2 separate regions of the Homo sapiens genome follow, and region 1 is linked to region 2. The links are contacts of gene promoters, found by promoter capture Hi-C in human tissues and cell types (Jung and others, 2019). All regions are on one chromosome and are shown on one strand. Each heading gives the region's core, a stretch centred on a gene start or on the middle of the fragment in contact. The rest is flanking DNA. Distances are from core to core; before and after follow the strand shown. Region 1 overlaps LOC105378806 (a long non-coding RNA gene). Region 2 holds the start of ST6GALNAC3 (ST6 N-acetylgalactosaminide alpha-2,6-sialyltransferase 3).

Region 1 (6,009 bases), core at 1,591-4,090, 85 kb after region 2:
AGACTTAAAATCAATGACATCTTAGCATTTATGAAGTATGGTAATATTTCTCATTCCAGGCTTCAATTCAGTTCCCCCTGGAGTCCCTTTACCCCTGTCTGAGTAACTACCTTTCTTATTAGAGCTTATGTTCTGCTTCCTTTTTCTGTTGCCACGAAAATGGAAAAGTCATTCTCAGTGAAGGCTTTGCATGAGCATTAAGAAACTATCAATTTTGGATTACTTCGTAGCTGGGTGTGGTAGAGGTTTGTTTAGAGATGGACTTTCTTGTAAAATTCGAGTTTGACTTATTTTTAAAAATTAACAATTTCCTTCCTTTCTAAATGACGAGAGAGACAGAAGAATTCTTCAAGGTTAGTGTGTCCAGCATGCAACCTTTCCTTCCTGGATGAGCATCCCTGGAATAGGAGAGCCAGCCTGCCTCCTGCGCTGGCACAGAGCCCGGTTCCCTAGACAACTGCCTCTCCAAATCTGATGTCCAGCGCCACCTGGTGTCCACATCAAGCAGACACAATTAATAGTCAACCTGTTCAGGAAAACTGTGAGGGGGAAAAAAAAGAAAGAGGATTTATGAAGGGAAAAGAAAGTTTAGAGGATATGCCACGATTGGAATGTAATGAGTAGAACCAGGAAGGCAGTCTCTAACCAATAAGGTGTTACAACACATGTATCTGCTTTGCCACATGGGATATGAAGACAATATATGAGTAAGCATATGTAACATAACTGATTAAAAAAAAAAAAGTTAATGTAAAAGGGGTACCAGAATAGAAGTCAGGCATCCTGGGTATTTTTCTGGTTTTCCAATTAATCTGCAAATTGTCTGTTATGCAGCAGGCACTTTAGTAGGTATCTGAGCCGAGCAAACATGGGAGGAGCTGGGGATGTGCCAAATGCTCTACATAGATTATTTCTTCCACATCTCAACTAGCCTATGAGGGAGACAGTAAAATTCCAGGGAGCATGAAGGCAGAAGACAGAGAACAGTAAGCACCAGAAAGCCTCATCAAAGGCCTGATCAAAGCTAACAATGTTGTGATTGGTAGTGAAAGTGTTTACTCATAACTAAGGCTATCCCAAAGTTGTTATAAAAGTTTGCTATCAATCTTCTTTTCTGTGATCTCCCGGCCTCACCTAAAATCAGGTGATTTCCCAGTAAAAGTCAGGGTTCTCAGAGCTACTTCCACCACTTTGTGGCTGTCTGAACACTCCATATTTGTGCAAATGCCAAGAATTGTATCACATCACTGCAGTAACTGTCTACACCATTTCTGCAGCCCTCCCAGCCATCAATCCCCCGGCACCACACATCTCTTGAGCCACAGATGAATCACAAACATAAGGAAAGAAAAATGTACAAACATATGGAGGAAATAAAACTCTCCGGTAAAGTGGTAGAATTTATTTTCATCTCCAGGAGCTGTCCTCCAGACTTGCAAAACTCCACCTTCATGCAAAAGCATCTGGAAGTTCAGAATTACTTTCCTTTGGCAAATGCATGAACTGTGACTCCTATATTTTGTATCTATTTTCTCACTTAAGACTTGAGGGCACTACAGGAAGAGCATTTCTCTCTTCTTTTACCATCTTCACTCTTGAGAGGCTTAGGGTTTGCTCGGGGAGACTCATAAATAAATAAATAAATAATAATAATAATAATAATAATTTGAATCCCAGGAAAGCTTTGGAATAAATGAGATCATGTCTATGAAAGTTATGTGTGAGCTGGAAAGTACTGTGAGTGTGTCAGGGTTCAGTTAGGAAAGCAGAGCCATGTATTAGGGGATTAAAGGATTTAGTATGGGAATTAGACTTTACAGTAAACATGGGAGGATCTGGAGAAGTGAATGTCTAGAAAAGGAAATAAGAGAATCAGAGATAGGGTCATTAACCAATGCCCCTGAAGTCCTGCACAGATGGACTAGTTTTTCTACTTCTCCAAGCATCAATTTCCTCCTACATAATGGTAAAGCATGGAGGTTCTAGAATCTGACTACTTGCATTCAAATCCTGGATCCGCAACTTCCTGGTTGTATAGTCCTGTGAAAGTTACTTCACCTCTCTATATCTCATTTCCTCCTTTGAAACTAAGGATAATAACAGCACCTGTCTATGGAGTTGTTGTGAGAATTTAGTGAAATAATACTTAGAACAGTGCCTGGACCATGTAAGCACTCAGTCAATGCAGCAATCTTTACCATCACAGGAGCATGGTGATCACTGAAAAGGATGTACGTTAGGCAGTTGGCTCACTACCCAGAATATTATACGTGCTCAGTAAACACTAGCTATGAGCTATGATAGCTTAAGATTTTGAGTCAGAGACATTGTAAGGGCAATGTAGGAGAAGTTTACATGTTGAAAATGCTAAGACATATTGGGGAACAGTCACTTGTGTGGCTGGAAGATAGGTTCTGAAGGAAACTGATGGAAACTATGATTGGAGAGACATGTCAACCAGGAAGCACTTAAGTATCACATAAACAACTAAGAGCCACAGCATGCTCTTAAGACTGACATAATGAAAGAGACTCTTTTTAGAGATTACCTGGCAGAATCTGTAGATTAGAATGGGAGAATGGGGTTAAGAATCAAATCTGCAGCAAGAAAGACTAGTTAGATAGTTCTTGTAATAATCTAGGGAAATAGTAATGAGGACTTGGATTATGATAGTAAGGATGGAAATGAAGAGAGAGAAAGTAAAGATGTGTCACATAGCAGAACTAACAGACCATGGAAATTAATTAGATATGAAATATAGCAAAGAAGAGAGCTCAAAACCAATTTTTAGGTTTAAAAAAGTCAAAGAAAAGAGCAGCCATTTGTGGAAGACAATTTTTTGAGCATGTGAAAATGAAGTACTCAGGTAAAAATGTGTGGACCGGAGCTCAGGAGAAATGTCGGGCTGGAGATAATGATCTGAGATTCATCTGGTGAGAGCTCTGAGAGTGGAAGACAAAATGCCTTCACTGCCAATCTCAATTTGGAATATGGAAAAAAGAAAAAGAAAGAGAGATAGATCGAGACAACCCTAAATATAACACAGCAAATCCTCACTAAATGTTGTCAATAGGTTCTTTGAAACTGCGACTTTAAATCATGGTTCCAGTCTGAGTGAATGTGGAGGTGTGTGTGAGGGCACCTTGTGATGGAAGGTTGTCTTGTCCAGGACTGGTTTTTTGTTTTATAATGAAAACGATTATAAATTGTTTCAATAATTGTTTTCATTATTATCTTATTTCATTCATTATTATCTTAGGCTAATTGGTATAAACAAGAGTTAAGTTCCCATGGCATATTTCTGGTAACAAAAACTTACCAGACTTCTAAATAAAGACCCAAAACACTTCTAATATTAAACAATGAAATAAAAGAGAGCTACATGTACAATTAAGAAAGAGTAATAAAAACAAGTAAGATCATTATTTACCCAAATTTGGCGAATCAGTGAGTATTAGCAGCTGTCATGGTGAAGGGTTAAGTCCAGGATAAATGTTTGCAAAGCAAAAATTGTAAGGAGCACCTCCTATTACCATGCAATTTAAAAACTAACTGTGGCAAATAGGGCAGGCTTGCTGAGTGTTTTTATACCACATTGCTTATTGTCATTTATCTGTATGATTTTGGTCTCATTTATGAATTTTTATTTGACAATAAATTATATTTGTGTATTCATTTATTTTCCAACCTGCTTATTCCAGTTCAGGGTCATGGGTGGCTGAATCTTCTTCTGGGAACCAGTCCTGGACAAGACAATCTTCCATCACAAGGTGCCCTCACACACACCTCCACATTCACTCAGACTGGAACCATTCAGACACACCAATTCATTTAGGGCACCTACAAAATCTGTGCACAGCTTTGGGATGTGGGAGAATATCAGTGCAGGCATGGGGAGAACATGCAAATTCCACATAGAGAGTGGCTCCAGCCAGAGAGCTTTTTTGTCTTCTCATCAATGCTATAAAGAAATGACAGTGAATGAAACAACATTATTTGGGGACCTACTGTATAAGTAAATCTTATTTAATAATGCACCCGTGTGTATAAAAAGATAAATAAATAGGCTATTGTAATCAATTAAGATTTATTCCCTGAGTTCAAGAATGGCTTAACGATAGAAAAAGTCTATTCATATGATTTTACCAATTAAAATGATTCTTAAAAATGACCATCTCAATGGATGCAGAAGAAAACATTTGATAGAATTCAACATTCATTAGTTACATTTTAAAAAACTTAGCAAACTAGGAATAGAAGAAAGATTTCTTAAAACAATAAAGAATGTATACCAAAATCTATGGCAAACTTTATACTCACTGATATACATTATACATTAGAAGTCTTTCTTTTAAAATCAGAAACTAGAAAAAAAACACCCTCTATCATATTTCTATTCAACATTGCAATGGATGTTCAAACCAATACAGCAAGACAAAGAGAAATAAAAGGACAGTAAAATTTTAAAATCAGATACTTTATTATCAGATGATGTGGTCTACAGAGAAATTACTTAAAATTAATAAATTATTTACAGTTGATAAATCATTAATAATTTATAATAATTTCCCCTGAAAATTTGGTGAATGGAAGATGAATATATAAAACTTAACTGAATTTCTAAACATCAACAGAAAAATGTATTTTTAAAAGATACCAGTTATAATAGTAACAAATATATATATATAAAAGATACCCAGAAATAAATTCAAACCAAAGATGCAGAAGACCATTATGGAGAAAAATTTGTAAATATTAAAAGATACTATAGATATCTCAAACAAATGGTAAGATACACAATGTTTGTGAATAAAAAGACTCAATATCATAAAAATGTCAATTTTTCTAAAATTCATTCATTAATCCAATGTAATTTCAACTGAGATTCCAAAAGTTTTCATGGATTTAATACTATGATTTTTGGCCAGGCGCGGAGGCTCAAGCCTGTAATCCCAGCACTTTGGGAGGCTGAGGTGGGAGATCAGGAGATCAAGACCATCCTGGCTAACACGGTGAAACCCCGTCTCTACTAAAAATACAAAAAATCAGCCGGGCATGGTGGCAGGTGCCTGTAGTCCCAGCTACTCGGGAGGCTGAGGCAGGAGAATGGCGTGAACCCAGGAGGCGGAGTTTGCAGTGAGCAGAGATCGCGCCACTGCACTCCAGCCTGGGTGACAGAGCAAGACTCTATCTCAAAAATTATATCTATATCTATATCTATCTATCTATATATCTGTCTATCTATCTATATGATTTTTAAATGTATATGGGAGAACAAAAGACCAATAACAAATATAAAAATTTTAAAGAAGGAAAACTATTAATAAACCCAAAGTATTACAATTTGCACTTTCAGTTCATTACATATCATAAGGATTGAGGGATTTGTCCTACTTAACATCAGTATTATTTTCCTATTTGTCCTATTTAACATAAGTATTATTTTCTATCTGTAGTAAGACAGTATTAAGACAGTGTGAGATTTGCCAGAGACAGACAAAAGACCAATGGAACAATGGGGATCCCAGAAACTGACTCATGCATATCTAGAATCCTAATATAAGACATATGCAGCATCAAAGGTTATTGGGTAAAGGATAAAGTATTCAAAAAATCATGCTAATTCCATCACAACTTGGTGAAATGAAAAAAAACATACTAAAATAATCAATTTTTTCAATGTGGAAAAAATAAAAGTATACTCCTACTGCACACTACAAACAAAATAAATCCCAGGTGATTAAAAACCTAAATGTAAAAACCCAAGCTTTTAAAAATTAGAATATATTGACCACAGGTTTTTGTGATTCTCACACAAAACACGAAAATCAAAAACCATGAGGAAAAATATTAATAAACTCAAGGTATTAAAATTTGCACTTTCAGTTCATTACATATCATAAAAATGAAAAGATAAATTAGACAAATGTTTTGCTCACATATATCTACAAAACTGTTGTTCCCATAATATCATAACATTAAAAGTCTCGAACAAATTGATAAAGAAAA
Region 2 (6,684 bases), core at 3,098-5,597:
GACTGGTCCTAGGCCAGGCACGATGGCTCATGCCTGTAATCCCAGCACTTTGGGAGGCCAAGGCACACAGATCACTTGAGGCCAGGAGTTCAATACCAGCCTGGCCAACATGGTGAAACCCCGTCTCTACTAAAAATACAAAAAATTAGCCAGGCATAGGGGTGCATAGCTGTAGTCCCAGCTATTTGGGAGGCTGAGGCACGAGAATTGCTTGAATCCAGGAGGCAGAGGTTGCAGCGAACCAAGATCACGCCACTGCACTCCAGCCTGGGCAACAGAGTGAGACTCTGTCTCAAAAAAAAATAATAATAATAAAGAGACTGGTCCTTGAGTTGATTCTTTATTCAATGGTAGAGCTACACAGGAGAGCTGCCTAACCAGGAGCATGGCAAGAAATGAACCTGCTAAGATTCAGAGTTTCTTTTTTCCCCCTGCAATATAACTAATATACAGATTATCTCATTTAACCTTTAGAATAACCCATTGAGGAATGCATGATTCCCATTTTGGAAACTGAGGTAGTGAAATCAAGAAACTTGTTATGGCTCTATAATCAATAAGGAGTGGAGCCATAATTAAAAGTCACATATTTCTGGCTTTAAAGTCCAGGCAATGTGAAGTCTGAATTCCTAAATTAAATGATTATGAAGTGATCATCGTTCTGTTACGAGAACTAGCGCTATGCATTGGCAGAATGGGCCCTCAGCATGCACAGCACCTTGAGGGGATAGTTCCATATCCCCTAAAAGACCAAAATTAGCTGCCACAGCATGGGGGTCTCTTCTTAGTGAGGGTCACTATTGTGTAGGCAATAATGATACTTTAATCAATATCTCTCTATCTCAGTTTTCTCATTTGTAAAAATGGATAGTAAAATCTACTGCAAAATTCATTGAGAAGATTAAAGTCTTAGCCCACAGAACAAAGTTGGCACTGCCTCAAAACTTATCTTTCTAAAACACGAGCTCCGTCATAGTAAATCCTATTTAGTCTTCAAAACACAACTCCAATATCATCAGTGGGAAGCCTGTCTGAACTACCCAATGACAGGGGTAATTGCTCTCTCCTTCCATGCTTCTACTATGCCCTCCATGGACCTATGTAGTTTTATTCTTCACATTGTAACCTAAGCACTCATTTACTTTTCTATCATCCTTACTAAACCATAAGCCATTTGAGAATGGGGTCAATGGTTTATGCATCTTGTGATGTAAAAGGAATCAGAACAGGCTACCCCAAAATATATCACTTTGGCATATTGATTATTTTGAGCTAAAGGCAATTGAGAAAAAGCAGATACAGGAAGGGCTTTCTGACCTCCCCATTTCTACCTAAAAGCAAGGCATAAAATTTCCCATGAGAAATGTCCCTTCCCTGTGCCAGGAAGAGGAGAACATTCTTATGATCAAAGATGGAGAGTCAACACCAAAATAAATCTCTAGTAAAAACACTCACCTATTTTCCATTAGTTTTCCCCATACATTTCCCACTTTCTCACAATCGACTGCCCCAGCCCAAACCCCCTTTTTCCTTTGTCTTGTCACATTTCCACAATTTATCCTTCTCTATTAAAATGCTTTATAAACTCTCAGGCCTCTCCCCTTCTTCGGGTCTTTATTTCTTATATAGGAAGCCCTCTGTGGTACACATAAAAACATTAACATCAAATAAAATGTGTATGTTTTTCCTCTGTTAATATGCCTTTTGTCAGTTTAGCTATCAGGACCAGGCACAGAAACTAAGAGGGCAGAGGAAAATCTTTCCTTTTCTACATATGCCAACACCAAGTCCAGGGTCAGCAAATGGCAGAAAATATTTCATTAAAAAAAAAAAAGTCCATAGTTTTATCCTCATAAAAACCCTGTAACGCAATGGTTATAATTCTATGAACACTTCAACAAGGGAAAACTGAGGCTCCAGGTTGCAGCAGCTGTCTAAAATCATATGCAAGAAGCCAGGCTTGCACTGAACTCAGGTCTCTGGACTGAAACCTGTATTCTGCACTGCTCCATGTGTAGCTTTTCAAAGACAACAAAGAAAAAAGATCCAGCCCAGACTGTCTAGACCATGACCAGAGAAGGGGATTGCTCAAAGGTGCTCAAAGGTGGTTGGAACTGAATGGTATTAGGCCATCTTAAAAGTCATCACCTGGGAAAGTACTGGAACAGCAGTAAAGTATATGGAAGGTTGACATATCTGGGTCTAAATCCAGGATCACTCTGTCATTAACCCTGTGTGGCCTTGGGCAAATCTCTTAAACTAGGGAGCGTCAACTTTCTCATCTGTAAAATGGGGTTTAAAACAATGATACTTATCTTTCAGGGTTTTATGTAAAGATTAAAGAATAAAAAACATTTTGTATTTTATAAAAAATAATAGTTATAAGAAACAGACTGAGGATATAGTAAGGATCAACCAAACTGCACTTATTATTATATGTTAGAGGAAAAAAATGGCACATATTAAATGCCTGTGCCACAAAGTATTTTTCATACCCTATCTTATTTCATTCCCACAGCAACCTTGTGAAGCAGGTGCCACTACTTTGATCTTATATTGAAGAAACTAAGGCCCAGAGACATTTAAGTAACTTGTCCAACATCACAGAGGTAGCAGTGGGCAGAGCCAGCATCCAGACATATCTTTCTGAGTCTAAAGCCCACATTAGTTTCAGTGGAGGGAAGATAAGGTGGACAGATATGTCCCAAATGTCTGAAAGCAGTGTGAAGTGCTAGAAGAGAAAGATTGGACCAGATTCATGTGTAGTTTGGGATGTGCATTAAAGATGTTTACCACATGTATAGGACAAGGCAGGGGAGAAACCAAAACAGAAAAAGATGGCCAGCAATAAATATCATGCTCCTCAATGTCCCTTTCAGCAAATAACACAATGAATAGTAAAGATGACTCATATTCATATTTCAGTCCTTGTGCTAAGAGCCTCCCGGTCAAATACCCCATACTGTAATACTGATGTATTATTTCCTCATGTCCTGGAAAATGTTCTGAAACAAAAAGAGGAAGTTCAGAAAGCTCACAGGAAACTTCTGATCTCCTTTACGCAAAGAAGGGGAAACAACTTCTACGAGGTTAGTCTCTTATTTTCATCATTGACACCAGGCACGTTAGAAGACGATTCAGGTAACCAGAACACAGTAGATGACTTAATATCATCTTATAGAGAAATAAATGCTACTTCACAATAACACAACAACAACGAATTGTTTCCTGGTATTTTCCATCGTCACACAGTTCCCCCAGGCTTGGACAACTAGGTCTCTGCATTCTCCAGTCAAGGCCCAGGAAACTTTCATGCTGTTCATGTTTTTGATTCATGCATCCAGGTTATGTTCTTGTAGAAAGGTAGTGCAAAAAAAAAAACGAGGGCAGGGGAGGCCTCTACCAGTGGGATGGAAAGTTCTTTTTAAGTGAGGCCCTCACACCAAGTTCTCCCACCTGAGGCCACAAGTCTGTGAACCCAGAAAGATGCTCAGGTGAGGCTAAGAATCCGGTCTTGGAGAAAGAAAACTCAACAAAGAAGGGATGGCTGAGCGCACTCTGGCAGAGCATAAAATCATTTTGTCTATTCAAATTTATGAGCATAAAGAGAGTGAGAGGTTCTCTACTAACATATACATCCTCGTGTGAACTTTTCCAAAGTAGAGCTAAGGGCAAACAGAGCTAGCAGATCTCATAGAAAACTCATTCCTAAGGGACTACCTGTAAACTCAGAAGTTTCTGTCTTCACATGATCAAATGCACAGTAGAGCCCACCTCCGCTCACTCTTCCCTCCATTTAAAGCGCTATGCCCCTCACCACCAGCAACTCACGCCTAGCCACTCCACCCCTCCCCGTGGCCCCTGAAAGGCCTCAGGCTCCACAGAGCCGCGGGACCCGCGGGAACACCCCTCCTCTCCCTACCATCCCCATTATTCGGCACACAGCCCTGCTCTCCCCTGGAGCCAACAGTCTGCAGCTCCTTCAATGCAGGCGCGAGCAGGAGGCAGGAATGGTGGGAAAAGAAGCTGTGCCAGCTGCATGTTTCAGAATCTCCCTCCATATGCATTTGCCAAAGGAACAAAAAGAAAATCAATGCCAGGAAAAGACAACTGAGATGAGGATGCGGTGGGACCGCGGCTGACTCCGTGCCTCTGAGCAGCAAGGGGCTGGCCAACCACGCGTCCGAGCCACAGATCCAAGTCGTTACCTTCAGGATGCAGGCCATGGCGCTCCGCCGGCCCTCCTGCCACCGAGCAGCGGGCGCGCCTGGGTCAGGGGCAGTCCTGGGGGCAGGCTGGAGGCTGGTACCACGGCAGGACCTCTCCAGCCCACATTCCCGCAGATCCAAATAAGGGGACCGCGGTGTAAGCTGCGCCGCCACAGACCCCGCCCCCCGAGCCGCGGCCCCGCCCCCGTCCCCATCCACTGGCCCGCGGCCCGCGCGGCCCCGCCCCCGGGTCACGTGCCGTCCTGGGCGCCGGCGCCGGCGGCTCCTCAGTGCCTGCTACTTCTTTCTCTTGTTTTCTTCTGTGAACCTTTCGCGGCTCGACGTGCGCAGAGTGCGCTCTGCAGCAGGCGGGGACCTGGGTCCCGCGGGGGGCAGAGTACGGCCTTTTCTTCTCGGTTCCGTCTCCTCTCACACATCAGAGAACTCCTTTTTACAGACGTTTCACACTTTGTCAAAGTTGAGTGGGTTTGGCATCGCCCTTCTGGAGACTTTGGGCACATCAAAGGGCTTTTCAAAAGTAGCAACGAAGTTCTCCCTGGGCTGTTCAAGGATTGAGCCTTCACTCTGTGATGGGCTTATCTAAAATTAATAATTTACCGCTAATAAGTGAGCACAAATATCAACGAAAGAAAGACGTCATGAACCTTACACTCTGTATGGTATATTTTGTGTGTGTGTACATATTTTACATATACATGTATGTGTGTATAATATATAAATTATTGCCTTTTCCTGGTACAAGCTTGTTTATGAAATTGTATATGCATGATATACAGTATACAGATACAGGATGCACACATGTGTATATTGTATTATATATGTACATGTTGATTGTACAGTATATGTTTATAAACTGTGTATGTGTACATGATAGGACTTTGCTCTTCCCTGCTCCAAGCAAGAGCCGGCTAAGAGAAGCAGTTATTTCTACAAGGAGAGTAAACGCATTGCAGAAGGGAGAGAGCATTCCGTGTACACACACAGATTTTTACCACTTGGTCTGTCAGAAAAATTTTAAAAGCGGCCCCCAAATATCTACCCAAAAGAAGTTTCACTTGCTAGAAGCTCCGTCTAGTTTGCCTCCATGGAATCAGGAAAAGCACTGTGGGCTGGTGGTGTCATGAGATTGGCTCACAAACCACAAGGCAGAATCCAGGCTTTCAAGGAATTTGGTATTTTCTTGATGAGAACATGCAGAATTCTTAGAGAGCAGGAGTAACCACAGGAAGGAGGTTGCAGAAGCTGAGCCTGTGGATGAACTGCCTGTCCCATGGGAAGCTCCTGTCTTCAGTCTCCCTGGAATACCACACCCTGCTCTTCGACTTCTTCCTCCCGCCCCTCCCTCCTCTGCCTTACAGATCCGGTGTGTTTTTAGTAAGAATTCTTTGTTTGGGACTATATACTTTAAACCGCTGCTTTAGCTCATGGTCCTTCATAGGCCAGGAAAATTCAGTATTTCATTCATTTACTCATCCCTTGATTGATTCCACAAACTTTTTTATTGAGCCACTACTAAATGGAAGAATAAACTTTATTCACCTTCCACTAAGTGGAGGAAAAATCTTTATTGAAGACCTTTCAGGGATAGGAGAATGACTTTCAGAATATCTAACATCAAGGTGGGCTCACAGTTAAGTGAGAAAGACAAGAATAAGAGATACATGATACTATAACATGGAAAGGGCCTTAGCCAAATTGGAAGCAAAGATCTCAGGAAGGAGAAAGAGAAACACCTGACCGTCCCCCAGCCCGACACCCGTAAAGGGTCTGTGCTGAGGAATATTAGTAAAAAAGGAAGGCCTCTTGCGGTTAAGAGGAAGGCCTCCGTCTCCTGCATGTCCCTGGCAGAACAGCAGAGCAAAGGGGTGAGGGTGGGCAGAGCACATCGTTCTCTCTAGAAAGTCTGTACATCTGGAAAGAGAAACAGCAGGCCCTAGTGAACAGCCCTGCTAAGTACTTCCCTGCTGGGTGTCCTTGATCAAGTTTCTTAACCTCTCTTTAATCCTTACCTTATCTAATATTATCTATCCTCAAGAGAATTAAATGAGATAATAATGTTTGCAAATTGCATTTACCTCAATTTCTGGCACTATGAGCACTTTTTATATGATAGCTCTTTATGTAAAGAAAAAAATCTTCCGCTAAAGACAGACTTGTGGGAGAAGATGAATAGGATAATTGCCATCAGCCTTGGGTGTCTCAGGAGGATGAACACCAACGGAGCAAACTTTTAACATGTTATGACTTGGGTATGCCGTGATGAGGCCTTTACTAATTCCCTCAATCTACTTGGATATGGCTTTCTCAATTACATTTCTATCCACCCATGTCCATACTTCCCAAGGTGTTATTTTTTTTATTAACATCCAAAAGTTATGTCAAACAGCTAGAAATAAAGGCACATTTATAACAATCTAAAAACAAACTCAAGTTCTAGAATAAATCTGGACTGGAA

Evidence for each region. Contacts are between HindIII fragments. The study calls those that stand out against the background at their distance.
Region 1: a fragment that was not itself captured here is called in contact with the fragment with the promoter of ST6GALNAC3 in region 2 in 2 of the 25 tissues and cell types used here (heart left ventricle and small bowel).

The regions. Positions count from the first base shown.
Region 1 is chr1:75,986,185-75,992,193 of GRCh38, reverse strand. The region is part of intron 2 of LOC105378806 (a long non-coding RNA gene); the gene reads left to right. Among named protein-coding and RNA genes, the nearest start is that of ASB17, 57 kb to the right of the region's middle. The HindIII fragment of the contact is 6,639 bases long and covers 1-6,009 here.
Region 2 is chr1:76,072,409-76,079,092 of GRCh38, reverse strand. ST6GALNAC3 (ST6 N-acetylgalactosaminide alpha-2,6-sialyltransferase 3) reads right to left here and starts at 4,347. Exons shown (of 5, transcript NM_152996.4): 1 at 4,209-4,347. The coding sequence starts at 4,226. RefSeq lists a silencer at 4,347-4,546. The HindIII fragment of the contact is 7,284 bases long and covers 1-5,862 here.